Regions from separate parts of the Homo sapiens genome. Here region 2 is linked to region 1. Evidence: promoter capture Hi-C in human tissues and cell types (Jung and others, 2019). All regions are on one chromosome and are shown on one strand. The core of a region is centred on a gene start or on the middle of the fragment in contact, and the rest is flanking DNA. Distances in the headings are between cores, read along the strand shown. Region 1 holds the start of EMC7 (ER membrane protein complex subunit 7). Region 2 overlaps SLC12A6 (solute carrier family 12 member 6).

What was found. The method cuts DNA at HindIII sites, captures the fragments that hold promoters and counts their contacts. A contact is called where the count stands out against the background at its distance.
Region 2: a contact is called between a fragment that was not itself captured here and the fragment with the promoter of EMC7 in region 1, in 1 of the 25 tissues and cell types used here (H1 embryonic stem cells).

The regions. Positions count from the first base shown.
Region 1 is chr15:34,099,901-34,103,499 of GRCh38, forward strand. It overlaps EMC7 (ER membrane protein complex subunit 7), which reads right to left and starts at 1,962. Exons shown (of 5, transcript NM_020154.3): 1 at 1,704-1,962. The coding sequence starts at 1,939. It overlaps PGBD4 (piggyBac transposable element derived 4), which reads left to right and starts at 2,183. Exons shown (of 1, transcript NM_152595.5): 1 at 2,183-3,599. The coding sequence starts at 2,632. RefSeq lists enhancers at 1,106-1,963, 1,573-2,272, 2,303-2,392. The HindIII fragment of the contact is 11,801 bases long and covers 1-3,599 here.
Region 2 is chr15:34,291,716-34,295,314 of GRCh38, forward strand. All of the region lies in intron 2 of SLC12A6 (solute carrier family 12 member 6), which reads right to left. Among named protein-coding and RNA genes, the nearest start is that of SLC12A6, 44 kb to the right of the region's middle. RefSeq lists a silencer at 1,477-1,696. The HindIII fragment of the contact is 4,166 bases long and covers 1-3,599 here.

The DNA.
Region 1 (3,599 bases), core at 712-3,211:
AATTCTCCATCAACCTTTCTACATACAAATAAAGAACATGAAATGGTATCAAAAGCTGTTCAAAAATATTAAGTGAAAAAGGCAGGATACAAACTACTACATGTTGTATTTTACTAGTAAAAACCTAAGTCATATGATTCCAAAAGAAGCTGGAAAAATGGTAGGCACCGTGGCTCACGCCTATAATCCCAAAAATGTGACAGGCTGAGGCAGAAATATCACTTGAGGCCAGGAGTTTGAGACCACACTGGGCAACATAGCAAGACCCTGTCTCTACAAAAAATTAAAAAATTAGCTGGACATGATGGTGTCCGCCTGTAGTCCTATCTACTGAGGAGGCTGAGACAGGAGGATCACTTGAGTACAGAAGTTCGAAGCTGCCATGAACTATGATCTCGCCACTGCACTCCAGGCTGAGTAACAGAAAAAGACCTTGTCTCAAAAAAATAAAAAGAAAGATACAATGAAACATTAAGGGTTGTTTTCCTACTTTGTTTCTAATATACTATTTTTAAACAGAAATTAAATGCTTTTTAAAAGAACTGTATACAGAAGAGTGGCCAAATGGTCAATTAAGGCTTATTCCTAAAGCTTAATGAGAACTTTATCATTAAAACATCATTAATTAGGGTAAACTCTAACGAATGCCCTAATGCCAGATTCTTAATGACAGACAGCAGTAAAATACTGGTTGTAAATTTGTCACTATTTATTAATCTGAGGTTGAATAACCACTCAAGGGCACTTAGATGATCTGAACAAATATGTAAATCAGATTTGGATTTAAATGTCTACATTTAAGTTGTCTGATTTTCAGATACCATTTGCTGGTGTACGAACCCACCAAAGGAAATACTTCCTAATTATTTGCTTTCAGTTTACAGTTTCACCTCCAAGTAAGGGTGGAAAGATTTAAAACAACATACGCGTGCCTAGACATTTCAAAAGCAGGCTGCTGCAAAACTAGTGCTAACAAATTCATCCTGTCTTTTAATATAGACAGAAAACCCACTTCCACTAATAGCATGAAAGGACAGAAGCAAGAAAGCAATGTAGAGGAACCCTAGTCTCACATAAATGACAAGTGTGATATAGCAAATCTCTCGATGAATTCAACTGTAAAAAAGAACAACGATCCCACCCCCAAGCAAAAAAAAAAAGAAAAAAAAAGTGCTTTGATTAGGGATTTCAGAGCCTATTAATTTTAGAAGCAGTAACATTAGCCTCCCAGTCTATGTCGTCACTAGAAGCCCTTTGGGTTTTGAGAATTCCCACTTGTGTCGCATCTTTCTACATAATAACAAGCTACCAAAAGACTGAAGTGAATGCAAAAAACGACTAGGTTCTAGGGAAACCAGATGAGATATAAAAGAATCCAACAAGAGACTAATAAGGGTCCACCTGTCCCCAGGGCCCAGGAATGATCGTCCCCACATGGGGCCAAAATAAGGTTGGAAATAACTGACTCCATGCTCTGACCATGGCAGGGGGTGAGCGCCTGCCATGCTCATTCCAGAGGTACAGGACCAGGAAAGGGAAAGCATCCGACTGCCTCCCAAGGTCTCCCGGCATAGACCGTTAGCGGCACCCTCCCCTTCAGTCTGAGACAGCGACGTTGTCCCGTCCTGACACTTAACTCTCCTGGTGGGGTCCCTGTCCGGCCTCCATCCCAGCCTTTTTCCCGCTGCCCTCAGGATGCTCACTTAAGGAAACCGACGTGCTCTTCTCCGTCTACCAGCACTCGGGCCGCCGAGATCCAGTCCTGAGGCTTCACCCCTGGAACAACTGCACGCCCCTCAATCTTGAAGCGATCTCCTATGCCGACCCCACTCCCTCCCGATCCCTCAGCAGCAGCCCCGGGCACCTCCGAGCTCTGGACATCCCCCGATAGCAGCAGCAGCAGCAGGACGGGAAAGAAGCCCCACAGAGCGGCCGCCATGACAGCAGCTCTGCACTCAGACCGGCAGCCCCGGAAGCCCTCCCAGTCTCCCGGCCGCCACCGCCGCCGCTGGCGGCTTGATGTTGTCATCACTGCGCGCCCGTTTCTGTCATAAGCTGTGGGATCCAACCAGAGGGAAGAGATCATGGCCGATCGACTAGCGAGGCGGAAGTAAGGCGGAAGTACTGCCCTTAACTCCCGGCACTCTGGATTGGAAGACGGCGCACAGAGCCTGTGTCAAGTGCCTATGAAGGGGACTGCCCATGAAGTGAAAGTCAAGTGTGTGTTGCTGCGGCAGCCACGGAGGCCAAGGACCTCACGGGAGTAAAAGATGACGAGACTGGCTTCGGGAGAAACACCATCCAGAAGAGACCTTTCAAAAAACTTCTAGAGACTCCCCAAGACGTATGAGATGAAAGGCTTCTTCTGTCTGTGTGCGTTTAACTCATTTCTCCTTAGCCCCGAGATTACGCGCTGCTGTGCCTGCGACTGCAGCGTTTACGCCGAGATAACTCGTGGATTACAGTGCCAACCTTACTCCCAAAGTTTGCCACGAAATATCTCGCTTCTGTTATTTTCGCATGGTTCTGGTATATTGACTTTTGAAACAAAAGACATCATTCTGTTTATAGCATTCTGTTTTTAGTAGTGGGATTTCCATCTACAAAATATAGTAATTCTCGATCGCTGAAATGTCAAATCCTAGAAAACGTAGCATTCCTATGCGTGATAGTAATACCGGTCTCGAACAGTTGTTGGCTGAAGATTCATTTGATGAATCTGATTTTTCGGAAATAGATGATTCTGATAATTTTTCGGATAGTGCTTTAGAAGCCGATAAGATCAGGCCTCTGTCCCATTTAGAATCTGATGGAAAGAGCTCTACATCAAGTGACTCAGGGCGCTCCATGAAATGGTCAGCTCGTGCTATGATTCCACGTCAAAGGTATGACTTTACCGGCACACCTGGCAGAAAAGTCGATGTCAGTGATATCACTGACCCATTGCAGTATTTTGAACTGTTCTTTACTGAGGAATTAGTTTCAAAAATTACTAGAGAAACAAATGCCCAAGCTGCCTTGTTGGCTTCAAAGCCACCGGGTCCGAAAGGATTTTCGCGAATGGATAAATGGAAAGACACTGACAATGACGAGCTCAAAGTCTTTTTTGCAGTAATGTTACTGCAAGGTATTGTGCAGAAACCTGAGCTGGAGATGTTTTGGTCAACAAGGCCTCTTTTGGATACACCTTATCTCAGGCAAATTATGACTGGTGAAAGATTTTTACTTTTGTTTCGGTGCCTGCATTTTGTCAACAATTCTTCTATATCTGCTGGTCAATCAAAGGCCCAGATTTCATTGCAGAAGATCAAACCTGTGTTCGACTTTCTTGTAAATAAATTTTCCACTGTATATACTCCAAACAGAAACATTGCAGTTGATGAATCACTGATGCTGTTCAAGGGGCCATTAGCTATGAAGCAGTACCTCCCGACAAAACGAGTACGATTTGGTCTGAAGCTATATGTACTTTGTGAAAGTCAGTCTGGTTATGTGTGGAATGCGCTTGTTCACACAGGGCCTGGCATGAATTTGAAAGATTCAGCGGATGGCCTGAAATCATCACGCATTGTTCTTACCTTGGTCAATGACCTTCTTGG
Region 2 (3,599 bases), core at 632-3,131, 190 kb after region 1:
CTTTATTTCATTAATTTGATCTTCGATCACTGATATCCTTTCTTCCGCTTGATTGAATCGGCTATTGAAGCTTGTGTATGCTTCACTAAGTTCTTGTACTGTGGTTTTCAGATCCATCATGTCATTTAAGCTCTTCTCTACACTGGTTATTCTAGTTAACCATTTGTCCTACCTTTTTTCAAAGATTTTAGCTTCCTTGCAATGGGTGAGAACATGCTCCTTTAGCTCGGAGAAGTTTGTTATTACCGACCTTCTGAAGCCTACTTCTGTCAACCTGTCAAACTCATTCTCCATCCAGTTTTGTTCCCTTGCTGGTGAGGAGTTGTGTTTCTTTGGAGAAGAAGAGGCATTCTGGTTTTTGGAATTTTTTAGCCTTTCTGCTCTGGTTTCTTCCCATCTTTGTGGTTTTATCTACCTTTAGTCTTTGATGTTGGTGACTTACAGATGGGGTTTTGGTGTGGATGTCCTTTTTGTTGATGTTGATGCTATTCCTTTCTGTTTGCTAGTTTTCCTTCTAACAGACAGGCCACTCAGCTGCAGGTCTGTTGGAGTTTACTGGAGGTCCACTCCAGACCCTGTTTGCCTGGGTATCACCAGCAGAGGCTGCAGAACAGCAAATATTGCTGCCTGATCCTTCCTCTGGAAGCTTCGTCTCAGAGGGGAACCTGCTTGTATGAGGTGTCTGTCGGCCCCTACTGGGAGATGTCTCCTAGTCAGGCTACACAGGGGTCAGGGAACCACTTGAGGAGGCAGTGTGTCCATTCTTAGAGCTCAAACATCACGCTGGGAGAACCACTGCTCTCTTCAGAGCTGTCCAGGAGGGACGTTTAAGTCTGGAGAAGCTGTCTGCTGCCTTTTGTTCAGATATGCCCTGCCCCCAGAGGTGGAATCTAGAGAAGCAGTAGGCCTTGCTGAGCTGTGGTGTGCTCTGCCCAGTTCGCGGTTCCCTGCCACTTTGTTTACTCCAAGTGAGCACAGAACTGCCTACTCAAGCCTCACCAATGGCAGACGCCCCTTGCCCCACCAAGCTCCCACGTCCCAGGTCAATCTCAGACTGCTGTGCTAGCAGCTAGCAAGGCTCCGTGGGTGTGGGACCTGCTGAGCCAGGCATGGGAAGGGATCTCCTGGTCTGATGGTTGTGAAGACTGTGGGAAAAGCGCAGTATTTGGGCAGGAGTGTACCACTCCTCCAAGCACAGTCACTCACGGCTTCCCTTGGCTAGGAAAGGGAAATCCCCCGACCCCTTGTGCTTCCTGGGTGAAGCAATGCCCCACCCTGCTTTGGCTCACCCTCCGTGGGCTGCACCCACTGTCCAACCAGTCCCAATGAGATGAACCAGGTACCTCAGTTGGAAATGCAGAAATCACCCATCTTCTGTGTCAATCTTGCTGGGAGCTGTAGACCAGAGCTGTTCCTATTCAGCCATCTTGGAAGCGACTCCTTAAGATACGTGTTTTTTAAAAAATCTTAATTGAGTTCTGATATGGCTTTAAGGATACAGCAATTAGGTAAAACAGGGAAATTAGTAAAATGTAGTAAAAGTAATTCTATCTATTGCTGTCAGGACTGATAGGTTTTTATTTTATTTAATTAATTAATTTATTTTTGAGACAGAGTCTCACTCTGTTGCCCAGGCTGGAGTGCAGTGGTGCAAACTCAGATCTCTGCAACCTCCACCTCCTGGGTTCAAGCAATTCTCCTGCCTCACCTCCCGAGTAGCTGAGATTACAGGTGCCCACTGCCACATCCAGCTAATTTTTGTATTTTTAGTAGAGACGGGGTTTTGCCATGTTGGCTAGGCTGGTCTCGAAATCCCGACCTCAGATGACCTGTCTGCCTTGGCCTCCCAAAGTGCTGGGATTACAGGCATGAGCCATCGCGCCTAGCCTATTTCATTTTTTTGAGACAAAGTCTCGCTCTGAGGCCTAGGCAGGAGTACAATGGCACAATCTCAGTTCACTGCAGCCTAAACCTCCCAGGTCCAAGTAATCCCCTGGCCTAAGCCTTCCCAGTAGCTGGGACTACAGGCATGTGCCGTCACACCTTGCTAATTAAAAAAATGTTTTTTTGTAGAGACAAGGTCTCCCTATGTTGCCCAGGCTGGCCACAAACTCCTGTTCTCAAGTGATCCTCCTGTCTCAGCCTCCAAAGTGTTGGGATTAGAGGTGTGAACCACCATGCCCAGCCAGGGCTGATAGGTAATTTTAAAAGCTGGTTGAAATAGAGAATCACACACACACAAAAATGGCTCACACATTAATATTTCAACATAAAAGTATATAAACTTGCAAATGTATATTAATTCACCAATCATTTTGTAAAAGCGATACAACTATGCAGATTGAATTTATTCATTTTCTTTCTTGTGTAAATTACACCCATAAGGCATAAGTCTGTGATTTCCAACTTTGGTTTAAAGATACTTATGAAGCAATATCTATATTCTTTTCAAAGCTTTGTCATTGCCCCACTCCCAACTCTTTTACAGGTCTCTTGTCCACTGCTAATTTAAATACTTCCTTCCACCCCCACCTTGAGACGGAGTCTTGCTCTGTCACCCAGGCTGGAGTGCAGTGGTGTGATCACGGCTCACTGCAAACTCCACCTCCCTGGTTCAAGCAATTCTCCTGCCTCAGCCTCCTGAGTAGGTGGGATCACAGGCACTCACCACCTGTGATCCAAAATGTGATACAAAAATGCCAGGCTAATTTTTGTATTCTTAGTAGAGAGGGGGTTTCACCATGTTGGCCAGGCTGATCTCGAACTCTTGACCGCGTGATTCACCCACCTTGGCCTCCCAAAGTAATGGGATTACAGTTGTGAGCCACCACACCTGGCCCTAAATACCTTTTTTTTAATTTTATTTTTAAGATACAGGGTCTTGTTCTGTTGCTCATGATTGAGTTCAATGACATAATCTTAGGTTACTGTAATCTTCAACTCCTGGGCTCAATCAATCCTCCCACCTCAGTCTCCTGAGTAGCTAGGATTACTGGTGTGCACCACTATAACTGGCTAATTTATTTGGTAGAGACAAAATATATCACCCAGGCTGGTCTCTAACTTGTGGCCTCAAGAGATCCTTTTGCTTCCCCTCCCAAAGTGCTAGGATTACAGGCATGAGCCACCACACCCAGCCTTAAATAAGTGTTTAATGACCTGCTAAATAATCCACGTTAGCTTTTATAGACACAACTCTACTTTCCCTATTCATATTACATCAATTTGTGTAATATTTGGTTAAATTATGGATTTATAATAAATACAAGTGTCATGAATAATTTTGGGACCAATAAAAGTCTCCTAGTAGACATAACAACAATAGAAAGAATTATCAACAGTTAGCACTTATTAGGGTATGTATGTGATAGACACCTAAACGTTTTACCTGTATTATCTCATTTACAGCAATCTCATCCTATGCTGTAAGTACTATCATGATTGTTCCATTTTACAGGAAAGGCAAAGGGAACCTCCAGGATGATGCTGAAGACAGAGCCCACTATGACAGCTGTGCAACTATCCCAGAGCGCAGACATGAGGCAGAGTGAAAAGATAACACAGAACTGGGAAGCAGGTAAAGCTCAGGTGAGATACTA